Linked DNA regions of Homo sapiens: regions 2 and 3 are each linked to region 1. Evidence: promoter capture Hi-C in 16 types of primary human blood cells and fetal thymus (Javierre and others, 2016). All regions are on one chromosome and are shown on one strand. Each heading gives the region's core, a stretch centred on a gene start or on the middle of the fragment in contact. The rest is flanking DNA. Distances are from core to core; before and after follow the strand shown.

Evidence for each region. Contacts are between HindIII fragments. The CHiCAGO score rates a contact against its expected background, and 5 or more counts as called.
Region 2: a fragment that was not itself captured here is called in contact with the fragment with the promoter of CSRNP3 in region 1 in 1 of 17 cell types (total B cells); the score reaches 5.9 in total B cells.
Region 3: a contact is called between a fragment that was not itself captured here and the fragment with the promoter of CSRNP3 in region 1, in 2 of 17 cell types (naive B cells and M0 macrophages). The highest score is 9.5, in naive B cells.

Annotation. Positions count from the first base shown.
Region 1 is chr2:165,467,684-165,471,490 of GRCh38, reverse strand. CSRNP3 (cysteine and serine rich nuclear protein 3) reads right to left here and starts at 1,793. Exons shown (of 7, transcript NM_001172173.2): 1 at 1,751-1,793. The HindIII fragment of the contact is 3,341 bases long and covers 1,604-3,807 here.
Region 2 is chr2:165,892,781-165,896,587 of GRCh38, reverse strand. All of the region lies in intron 22 of TTC21B (tetratricopeptide repeat domain 21B), which reads left to right. Among named protein-coding and RNA genes, the nearest start is that of TTC21B-AS1, 39 kb to the left of the region's middle. The HindIII fragment of the contact is 5,279 bases long and covers 1-3,807 here.
Region 3 is chr2:165,871,337-165,875,143 of GRCh38, reverse strand. TTC21B (tetratricopeptide repeat domain 21B) reads left to right here. Exons shown (of 29, transcript NM_024753.5): 29 at 312-1,782. The coding sequence ends at 389. LOC100506124 (a long non-coding RNA gene) reads left to right here and starts at 3,203. Exons shown (of 4, transcript NR_045375.2): 1 at 3,203-3,807. RefSeq lists an enhancer at 391-590. The HindIII fragment of the contact is 880 bases long and covers 1,629-2,508 here.

The DNA of each region.
Region 1 (3,807 bases), core at 544-3,043:
TTCCTGGAGGTAGCTTTACTCAGAATTTATAATTTCTAAAAAATATAGCTGCATTGATTTATTTCCTCTAATACATTTTAGGAGATGAATATCTGGTCTTATATATCACCTTGAATTTCAATCTTGGGGTGAGGGGTGGATTAATTTCAACCATTGTTTTGCTTAAAAAAACAAAATCGGAAAGATCCATCAATAATTAGAAACATGCCAAAATTTCAGTATTATGTAATAATTTTTGAAATCCAGAAACAGTTCAAAATCAACCATACCAGAATATTTACTTGGTTCATTATGACACTTAACCATATAAACATGTTATTAACTATATTTAGTACTTTTAGGAAATTTAAGGTAATTCTCAATTCATTTAGATAATCCATACTAATATTCAGCAATTTTCTCACTCATTTTAATTTTCCAAGAACTATTATATTTGTGTCTGTTTATTCAAAGACAAAATCTCTCAAACAAAAAAAGTACAATAAATAAAAAAATTTGAAAAACAATAAACAAAAAGAAAAACAATAGCAAAAAATATTTAGAAATTATATAGTCATTCCTATTAGTTTTGATTCATTCAAAAAGGTATTAAAATATGTAGGAACAAATTATTTACCTCATTGAAAGACTTTTATTTTATTATTATAATCAACAGGTATTAATCGATGGCCAGTGTACTGAAGTCAGTCATAATTCTTGAAAGTTCAATTTTAATGAGGTTCTACCACCGTTAAATGACCTGTATTTATGAATTAAAGTAAAGAATTAAGTGACTGGGAGTTCAGTTTTTTTGTATGTTTTTACTGCAAGTGTGTTATTTATTCTACATACTTAGAACTTGTCCCTTTTTTCCCTAAGGCAATATAAAGGACCATATTAGGAGATACAAGCACCTAGTAAAGTTGCTAAAAAAAAATTGCCTAGAGATATTATCAACAATATAAATGCTCTGATGGAATTCTTATCTAGATGTGTTTGACTGATAAATTAAACTACCCATGAAACATGACTGTTAAGATGCTATTTTTTACAGCAATGTTTAATCTTTCAAAATTAGGTTTCTGTGCTTTAAAATAAAAATGGCTCCATGTAAGTTAACAAGTAGAGACAAACCATTGTTTAATTATCACATAAGCTTAAAGTTTGCTGAATAAAATAATGCAAATATTGAACAACATGAGATTTATCAAGAGGAGTAAGTTAAATAACAGGGCTTAAATGCACACAAATCATTCATTCTAAATTAATGCTAAAAGAGTCTACAACCTGCAAAAATAGTTTTCCTAAGCCTTTTACTGTATTGTCAATATTAAAAGCCATCACATGAAATTTTATATTGTATATTCACAGAAGGCTCCATTTTCTCAGGACCTGTGGAATTTACCGAGGTTTTCTCATCCTTCCTGCGATTCCTAGTAACAAGCTTGAATTAAACATTTTTGAAGAGACACATGATGATTCATTTTATCTATTAATTTTGCTTCAGTGACACTTGCATAGAAAGTTATTTAGGATAAGACATGCCTCTGGTGATTGTTTTGTTTTGTTTTTAATCAGCTAAGGATTTTGCAGAGAGAAAGAACAGCAAGCTCATTGCAAAGCTTCCTCAAGTAATAAAAGGGACACACTTTCAGAAAATGTCCTCAGAATAATTTTCCTACTATAAAATTGTTTCCGTAAAAATTAAGAAGCATTCTCTTTTAAAGAAAAAAAGAATTCTCTTTTCTTTTTTTTTATTTTTCGCTCTTACCTGTAAATATGGTTTCTGTACTTCGGCTCCGTCAGAACACACTGAAGAGAGTACACTCCTCCCTCGTCTATCCATCAGGCGGCAGCCAACCAATAACAAAAGCCAGATCCTGGCATTCTCTAGCTCATGCTCCCTGCTTTGCTTCCATTTCTTGTTCCCTCCCACCTCCACTCTTTTAGAGGACGAATCCCTGCAGCTGGGAGAGAGGAAGCGAGTGGAGAAAAGAAATATGGAGAGAAAAGCAGAGATGCAAGATATTTCAAAAAATAGCTCCCAACTATGGAAAATGTCTGCAGATGACCTCAGCTGAAGTAAAAAGTCTTGCTTTGGATTTAGAAAAATAAAGTTAATCAATGCCTCACCTACCTGAAATCAAAGCAAAATGCTCATAGTAAAACCTAGGTAAATTGCCTGTTTTTTAGTTCCCACTGATTTTTCTCAGTGAAAAAAGTGTACCTCCTCATTATACATTTTGATATGCAGACAGAGGAGGGAGACTGAACATCAAGATGACATTTTGCATATTCAGTTTGCAAAGAGATAGAATTAAAATGAATCAACACCCTTTATACTTATGTTTTATATTATTTGCACTACAACCTCTGTTTGACAATGTTTTCATTCAAACGCAGTTTCGAGGCCTAATCAGTATGAAAAATATTTCATTCTGAGCATTAGAATATTCAAATATTTCACAGTTATGTGGTTTGCATTACTTCAGATTCCTTAAATGCCATCAATTTGTGAATAATGGAACTTATTAAAGATTAAAAAGAGATCAGTCACTTGGTTGCCATGCCTCAAAGTGACCAGCTGAACTCCAATTTTATTCTAATAAACTTAAACAAAAATCATTTCACTTCTGAACCTAGAGGCATAACATGCATTAAAGGACAGTTAAAGAAAACACCAAATTAGGATTTTTTAAGGCAATAAAGCAAATTCATCCAGTTTCAAACAGTTTAATTTTTAAAATACTGTAATACAAACCAGGGATCTTTATGATAAAAATTCTCTCAATTGAGCTTCCTCTAGTGGAGGTGGTCTGAAAAATTTCCTTAGAAAGACATATACAGTAGATATCACCACTATAGAGGTATGTACTGGCTACTTGAGGTATTTATAAGCCTTGCTCTTCAATTTCTTAAATCAGTAATGTGTCCTCATGGGAATAAGGCCAAAGGGAGTAAAATTAGAGGGAAGGGCAAGCAAGCATTCTTTAAGAGTTACTGGCATGGTGGCAAATCATTAGTCCAGGAATATCTGTACAGGAAGGGCTTGGGGTGTCAATATTGTTAGGAAAGGAATGGCTGGTGACTTAAACTGATACTAACTTTAGATAGGAGTGCACTGATTTTGCTTAGTTTGCACTGTTATTTAGAGTAGCTTTGGGAGGCTCTGCTAAAGATTATGGGGAAGACTAAACTATCGCTTATTCCCACCGCCAAGTCCTCTGTTGTGAAAAATGCTTTCAAAGCCTTTGTGGTCCTATTGCTAGGAATAACTGGAGGAATCCCTAGGACAGACAGCATTTTTAGAAATAGTTGTTCGGGGCCATCTTCATCAGAACCACTAGGGGAAGATTCATTAAAAATGCAGGTTCATGGGCCTCCTCCAGATTTAATGAATAAGCATTTGAGGAGTTTCTGACTCAGCATTTTTAGCAAGCTCTCCCAGGTGATTTATATGTCAAGTGTGATTGTAGACAGAGACTTGTAGGCAAGTATTTGCAGGGCACAAATTCTAACCAGATTTCTTCTGTTTAGATGATGATGCCATTGTCTCAGAAAAAAAAAAAAAAGAGAGATTTAGAGATTTGGGAACAAAATAACAAAATTAATTTGAACGTTTTGAACTTTTTGGATATCCAGATTAAAATATTAAATAGTCAGTTAAACTCATAAATAAGGCTGGGATGTAGGTTCAATTTGGAACCCCCAGCATCTAGGGTTCGGTTAAAGTAATGAAAATAAATGAGCACCCTAAGGGTTTAATATAAAAATTTTATAAAGAACTCATAAAACTTAACAGTGGAAAAACAAACCCAATACAAAATG
Region 2 (3,807 bases), core at 424-2,923, 430 kb before region 1:
ACATCAAGTAGCACCACTTCTTGCTCTCTGTCCCTTTATCCTGTTTTCTGTTCAGTTGAGTTTTTGGGGTTTGGCTTTAGGATTTTTGGGTTTTGTGTAGCCCTTGTGAAACAAAAGCAAAAAACTACAAATCATAGAATGGAAGCATCAAGTGACCAGAAACGTTGTCCTTCACTGCTGTGTTTCCAGAATTTAGAAGAATATCTGGCCTAGTTAGTACTCAACAAATACTAGATGGAAAGAAGAGTGAGGGAGAAAAGGAAGAAAGGGAAGCAGGGATGGAGGGAGGAGAGGAAAGAGAAAAAGAAAGAGGTGGGAACTGTTTGACTAATACATGACTGTATGTTACTACCTGTGTTACTAAAAAGAGTTTGAAATGGCAGAGGAAGTCCTAGAGCTGTGTTTCAGTTCTTCTAAACCCCACCACCTTCATCTCAGGCTGATGCCCTAGGCATCTGTGCTCAGAGCCTCAGAGACACAGAGGTGGCAATCCTTCAAGCAGGGCAACTCAAAGAACTAGATATGCTCTGCAGGCTACCTCTAGTAACGCTTTTAATAAAAAGATGTTTGAATTTAGAGAACATCAGTTTGTATTTAAAAATAAAATATCCCCAGCGAGCACAAAAATTGAAAGGAGAAAATATGGTCTGTTTTTTACAGTAATATCAACACTTTCTCTTTATTATTTTTACTCTTTGAGTTTTTTAATTAAATAAATTAAATTTATTTAATATGGGGACTACCACAGGCAATTTCATTTGTTTTTTGCCCTGTCTATTCCAGAGTATACTCAGATGTTATTTAAAAGAATGCTGTGAACTACTTGACCATCTCACCTCTTCCACTCACTCTGGGTCCAAAATATGGGCTCATCTTGCCACCCACATTGCCCAAACCTACTTTTATTTTCTTCAGGCCTGTATCGTTTTTTTCCCTGCCATTTCTACCTTGTGTTCCACACTGTTTTCTCTTATTCCTCTTCTCTAAACTACCATTTAAAAGTAATATACATAATATATTCATTCTATCTCAAGCTGTTCCCATTTCACAGTCTTTCCCTTTGAGACAATGATCTAACTTTATTTCTTTAAAAAACAGACTTCTTCCACTGTGAATATTTTAAGTCATTAAAAGTATTATAGTTTTCTAAGATTTGAAGAATCTCACACATTATAGTTTTCTAAGATTTGAAGAAGTCTTCATGTGTCTTGTGGGTTTTGTTTCACGTAAGTTTCTGTTGCTTGGCAGCAGCCTTTTTCCCAAAAAAATTGGCTTAGTAGACTGGCTGCTTTGGACTGTTTGTAAACAAATATAAAAGCAATTTTTTATAAATGCAATATAAGGATCTTGTACTCCAGCAACACCAAATGACATACAACCATGCTTCCAAGTCTTTGCTTGGGTTTTTTCCTTTTGCCTAAAATGAACTTTAGCTTCCTTATCCCTTTTCTCTTTCCAAACACATAATCTAAAATATATCCCTCTTGGGGGAAAATAAAAAAGTAAATCTGCATCCCACTACCACCACCTACATTAAAAAATGTCTTATGTGGTGCTGGGTAGCATGACCAACCATCCTAGATTTGCCTCGGAGCAAAGGGTTTTCCTGGATGCAGGACTTCCCATGCTAACAGAAAGTCACAGGCAAACTGGGATGAGTTGGTAACCCTAATCCTCGGTTACTTTGTCCATACGTCTTTATTACTTATAGTATTTTACTAAAAATATTTATGTGCATATTTGTGTTCTTTATTACACTGTAGACTCCTCGAGTTCAGGGATCACACCATATTCCCAATATCAGACAAAATGCCACACACATGGATGTGGCAACATAGATGTTTATTGGTTGAATGGATCAGTGAATGACTGTAAAACACCAAGTCAATTAAAAACACAGCAGGAGAATCGCTTGAACCTGGGAGGTGGAGGTTGCCGTGAGCCAAGATCACACCACTGCACTCCAGCCTCGGTGACAGAGTGAGACTTGGTCTCAAAAACAACCACAAAATTTTAAGTAAATTTTTATTGTCTATGTGATATTTTTAATCTTAAGAGTTTTTAATCTTGTGTTGTATGCTTTATTCTTACTAGTACCTTACATACTTATCCACAGATCTATTTTGTTGGAATTACTCTAAAACATGCATCTCCGTTCATTTTATGTGTACATTATTGGTTATCCTCAGTAACTCATCTTGTACTTTAGATTAAGGCTCTATTTTAGCTTATTTCAGAAATGTACCATACAAATTTGACCTAATTTAAGTAGTTGAAAAATTCCTCTTCTAGATCTAATTACTGCTCTCACGACAGATTGCCCCTTTTCTCTCTCAGAATCTCCAGATCGCCTTGAGCTTTCCCCTTCCTTCATACTAATTGGTTAACATGTCTCCTCAGCTCTGTTTGCTTGATAGCTAGCTAACACATCCAGTCTGTCGTATCCTAACCCACTGCTCTAATGAAGACCCTTATCACCTCTCATCTGAACTAGTGCAGATTCCCAACTCATCTTCCAGCTTCTAGGTTCTGGCTGCTCCAGGTCATCATAGGACTAGCATATCAGTTCTAAAAATCAAAACCTACCCTTTGCTTAAAATTTAAGTTAGTGCTTCAGGATAAAGTCTAAAATCATAGCATTATTTTAATAATAATATGGCCGCAAATTATTTGGCCATTTATATTTCTTATCCTTCTTCCTCCGCTTTAATAATATCAAAGTTACCAACACTCCCCACACTGTTCTCTGCTTCCCTCTTGGCGCATGCCTTCTGCTACTTGGAATGCCTTTGTCCGTCTAGTAAGATCTTCCTCCTATCCTTGAGGCTGCTCAAAGGTCAACTCCTATGTGAAATTTCCCAACTCCTCCAGGCAAAGTTAAGAATCCTGTGCTTTGTAATACCATACCATAGCACTGCATGCTTGCCACATCTCATCACCCTATAACTATTTTGATATCTTCCTACTATTCATCAATAAAGATGGACCAGCTAAGTTTTTTAGAAGGTAATATACATTTTAGTTTTTAATACATTTCTTAAGTGCAGAAATTTGCCTTCTGTCAAATGTCATGGTTAACCAAAGACAAGTGAATGTAATTTAATCTGTCACTGGTAATTATAACTTGAACTAATAATGAATACATTTCAATAGTATATAAGAAATATTCAAGAAATTGCCTTCCCAATGTTGATAATACTAGCAGTATCATGCAAAAAAAATTTAATCCGAAATTTTAACCTTTAGTTCTTGCTTAATCCAATATAGCTTCCAGATGCTGTGGCTTTATTATGGGGTAGTTACTCTATTTCTTGTCAACATTTTTGGAAGTATAAATATTATTAATAACATTTGTAATTTATAAATATTTTTCATGCCTTTATTTCTGTAGCACTCCTACAGTCAATATTATAATCCTATTTTAAGAAAATAAGTATATTGGACTCAAAGAATTTGAGTAATTTGATTGAATTCACATAGCTAAAGGACAAGACCAATATTTGAATTGTCTTTTTCTGAAACCATATTCTTATTGTGCCCTTTTTAGTGATGCTAAAAGGTGTGGTGAACAAAATCTCTGGACCCAAGATTGTGTGTCAAGGGGACAAATGATACTATCAGCCTGTATTAGTTTGACATCCTGTAATTAAGTAGATACAGTATTTCCAAAAGTCTTTTTTAAAGAATATTTTGTATTGTGGTGAAACATATATAACACAAAATTCATCATCTTAACCATTTTTAAGTGTACTGTTCAGTGGCATTAAATGCATTCGCATTGTTGTGTAAGTCATCACCGTTATCCAT
Region 3 (3,807 bases), core at 819-3,318, 400 kb before region 1:
AAAGCTAAATTACAAAAATATTTTAAATCATTGATACATAATTGTTTTATACAATTCATCTATTAGGTAAGCAGTTGTTTGTTATATTTTCTGCATTTGATATTTACATTCTATTGTTCTCATCTAACTACCATTAATATAAAGGAGTCATCATGTTACATTTAAAATGCCACCATTAAAAAGTGTTATAGCTGTTGTAGTATTAGTACAAGGAAATCTTAACTGTAATGCTCATTTCTTATAAGTTTTGTAACTCCGTAGTTTTTGATTATTAGTTACAAGTTTTTATGGGTTCTTTATTTGTTTTGCAGGTTCTTGAAGCACATCCAACTTATCCAAAAATCAGAAAGGATATACTTGATAAGGCCCGTGCGTCTTTAAGACCTTGAAAATAATTTTAACTTAGGTGTTGGTTTAACAGGAAATGAAAGAAATCTAACTTTCAGTTCTTCCTGTTCAAAACAGGTTTGAGCTCAGTGCTTTGTTATTAGAAGTATACCCTTTTTTCTCCAGCAGAGGTTGCTGCTGTACATCAAGAGAAGTACTATGTGAAATTGGTGTTTCCTAATGGAGTTGAATGAGAGCTGGTCTATTTGACTCTGTTTTGATTGGGTACAGATTTGGTGACTCTGTGGTAAAGACTATAATTATTTCTATAAAGAATATTTTGTTAAAATCTAGGTAATTAAATACCCTGTATCTTTTCTAAGGAATATTATTTCAGGAAATATATTTAAAATGCATTGTTCTCTTTTAAAGTGTTTTTGTTATATTCTTTTATTTATTTATTTATTTTTAAAGACAGAGCCTTGATCTGCCGCCCAGGCTGGAGTGCAGTGGCACGATCTTGGCTCACTGCAACCTCCGCCTCCTGGGTTTACGCGATTCTCCTGCTTCAGCCTCCCGAGTAGCTGGGACTAAAGGCATGTGCCATCACACCCGGCTAATTTTTTGTATTTTTAGTAGAGATGGGATTTCACCGTGTTAGCCAGGAGGGGCTTGATCTCTTGACCTTGTGATCCACCTGCCTCGGCCTCCCAAAGTGCTGGGATTACAGGCATGAGCCACCGCACCCAGCCTGTTTTTGTTGTATTCTGTGTTGTTTCAAAAATTGGAATAAATCTCCCTGTAAATAACTCATGAAAAAGACAATATATATATTTTAAATATATATTTTAATAAAGGTTTTATAAATAGATGATTTATATTCCTCTTGGAACTCAAAAGATGTGGTAAGTTTTGCAAATCAGGGTAAGCTCCCCCTGCATTCTGTAATGTTAATGGGTGGTGGTATAGTACAGAAAATGTAACTTTCATTGAAAAATCTTTTTTAGAAAAGGGTAGAGTGTGTGTTTCCCTTTCCTTTCTTGAGCTCATTCTTCCTGCTTTCAAGGCCATTGTGGTCTTAAGAAATAATCAGGTCCTGAAACCTCAATTTAAATAGGTCCCTTATTAGGGATATTTAACCTTAGCCTAGAAGACTTGGTCTGCAGGTATAATTTCAGACACTGTAACATTTGATGGTAAAGGGTGACCAAATACTTTTGGTCAGCAGGGAGTCACAAAGCACACCATGTGAAGGCAACGGTTTACCCAGCTCTGTTTAACAGCACCCTGGCATAGAAGCTTTCACTCTCTTACACTAAATTTAACCTAATCTAAACTTAATCCTTAGCATTATTTTTAATTTCTCATCTACATCTTTTTCAATTTTCCTTAAAATTGTAGTAAACACAGTCCTCAATTTTATTTGCATTTACAATAAACAGTATTTATAAGTCATTTGCTGCTTTTTATTAAATGTCCTGTGTTTGTTTTGAACTCCATTCTCTTGTTTCTGATCATTTCTCCCATTTTTCAAAATCCCTTTAATTTCAATTACGTTATAAAATTCCAATTATTCTTCTTTTCACTTAGCAAAACAGTTTTTTGTGGGGTTTTTTGTTGTTGTTGTTCTTTGAGACAGAGTCTTACTCTGTAGCCCAGGCTGGAGTGCAGTGGTGCGATCTTGGCCCACTGCAACCTCTACCTCCTGGGTTCAAGCAATTCTCCTGCGTCAGCTTCTTGAGTAGCTGGGACTAAAGGCACACGCCACCACGCCTGGCTAATTTTTGTATCTGCAGTAGAGATGGGGTTTCGCCATGTTGGCTAGGCTGGTCTCGAACTTCTGGCCTCAAGTAATCTGGCCGCCTTGTCACCTAGCTTTTATTTATGGCATTTCATAGAATGTTTAATAATAGAATTTATAAGTCACTTCATATATGTTAAAATACTTTCATATTCCTTACATTTGATCTTCACAAACCTAAAATGCCGGCATTATTATCCCTGTTTTACAAATCTGGAATCGTGAAACATTACCTCTTTTTCTTTAATTCAGGTGGAGAAATATCTTTCAGCCTGAGTGGACATTTTTAAGGACAATGCTATGGACTGAATGTTTGTGTACCCCAAACTTCGTATGTTGACATCCTAGTCTTTAATGTGATAGTATTGGGAAGTGAAGCTTTAGGAAATAATTAGGTCATAAGGCTGAAGCCCTTGCGAGTGCGATTAGTGCCCTTAAAAAGAGGATCCCAGAGAGTTCTCTAGCTATCTTTCTACCATGTGAGGACAAAATAAGAAGTCAACTATTTGCAACCCAAAAGAGGGTCCTCACCAGAACCTGGTGGTGCTGGAACCGTGATCTCAGACTTCCAGCCTCCAGAACTGTGAGAAACAGATTTCTTTTGTTGATAAGCCCACCAGTTTATGATATTTTATTATTGCAGCCGGAGCTGACTCAGGCAGAAATCACATTAACAGAATGCCTTTAGTAGTTCCAGTGAACTTGTGTCATGGGATGCTGGAATCATGGAAATTGGATAGAGAAATAGAGCATCTGTTCTCTCAGCAAGACATTTCCAAATCAGTTTTCCTATCTGTAAGAGGAGAGGAAGGTTTTGTTTTTGTTTCTTAAGCAGCCATTTATTTTGCACCTGCCATTTGTTAGATGCTATTTTAGGGACTTTCCTTACTTTATGTCTTTTAATTTTCAGTCAGCTATTAAGAGAAATAATATTCCCACTTTTCAGATAAGAAAGGTGAGACCTGGACTAAATGATTTGCCCAGGGTCACAGAGAAAAGTGTCAGAACCTGAATTCCATACTGGCCCAGTCAACTTCAAAGCCTCTGCCTTATTTATTATATTAAGATGCCTTCTATAACTAAGAGATAATGTTTCTGTAAGAAGAAGTGATCTTTTCTACATCTGGCTAGCAGAAGAAACTGGTGTATCACAGAGATAGCTAAATAATGAAGAACAAGATGGACTGAGTGGAATGAACAGCTGTTACAAATGTAGAAACTATTAAAGAGCAGTCTAATTGAGGAGCACTATAGTGTAGCAGTCAAGAGCATGGATCTGAAATCAGACCAGCCTGGATTTAAGTTTTGGCTCTACCATTACCTAGATGTTTCATCTTTCTCCAAGTTACACACTCTCAGCCTCAGTTTTCTCACCCATAAACAAGCATATAAGGATAATAACCTGCCTCAGGTTGTAAGGATTAAAGGGAACTTATATAAAACCTATAATGAATCTGACTCACTAGGCTCTTAATAGTAGCTCCTCTTATAAGCAGAACAGGGCAAAGTAGTAATTGCAACTGAGAAGAGAAAATGCAGTTCAAAGCAAGATTAAAAGGATGAGTAAAGTCCCCTAGAGAGCTCAGCCCTACAGGATTTGAGATTCTCATTCATTCACACCTTCCCTCCTTCCTTCCCTTCTAATTTTTGTTCAACTACTTCCCTCTTTTCCTCTCTCT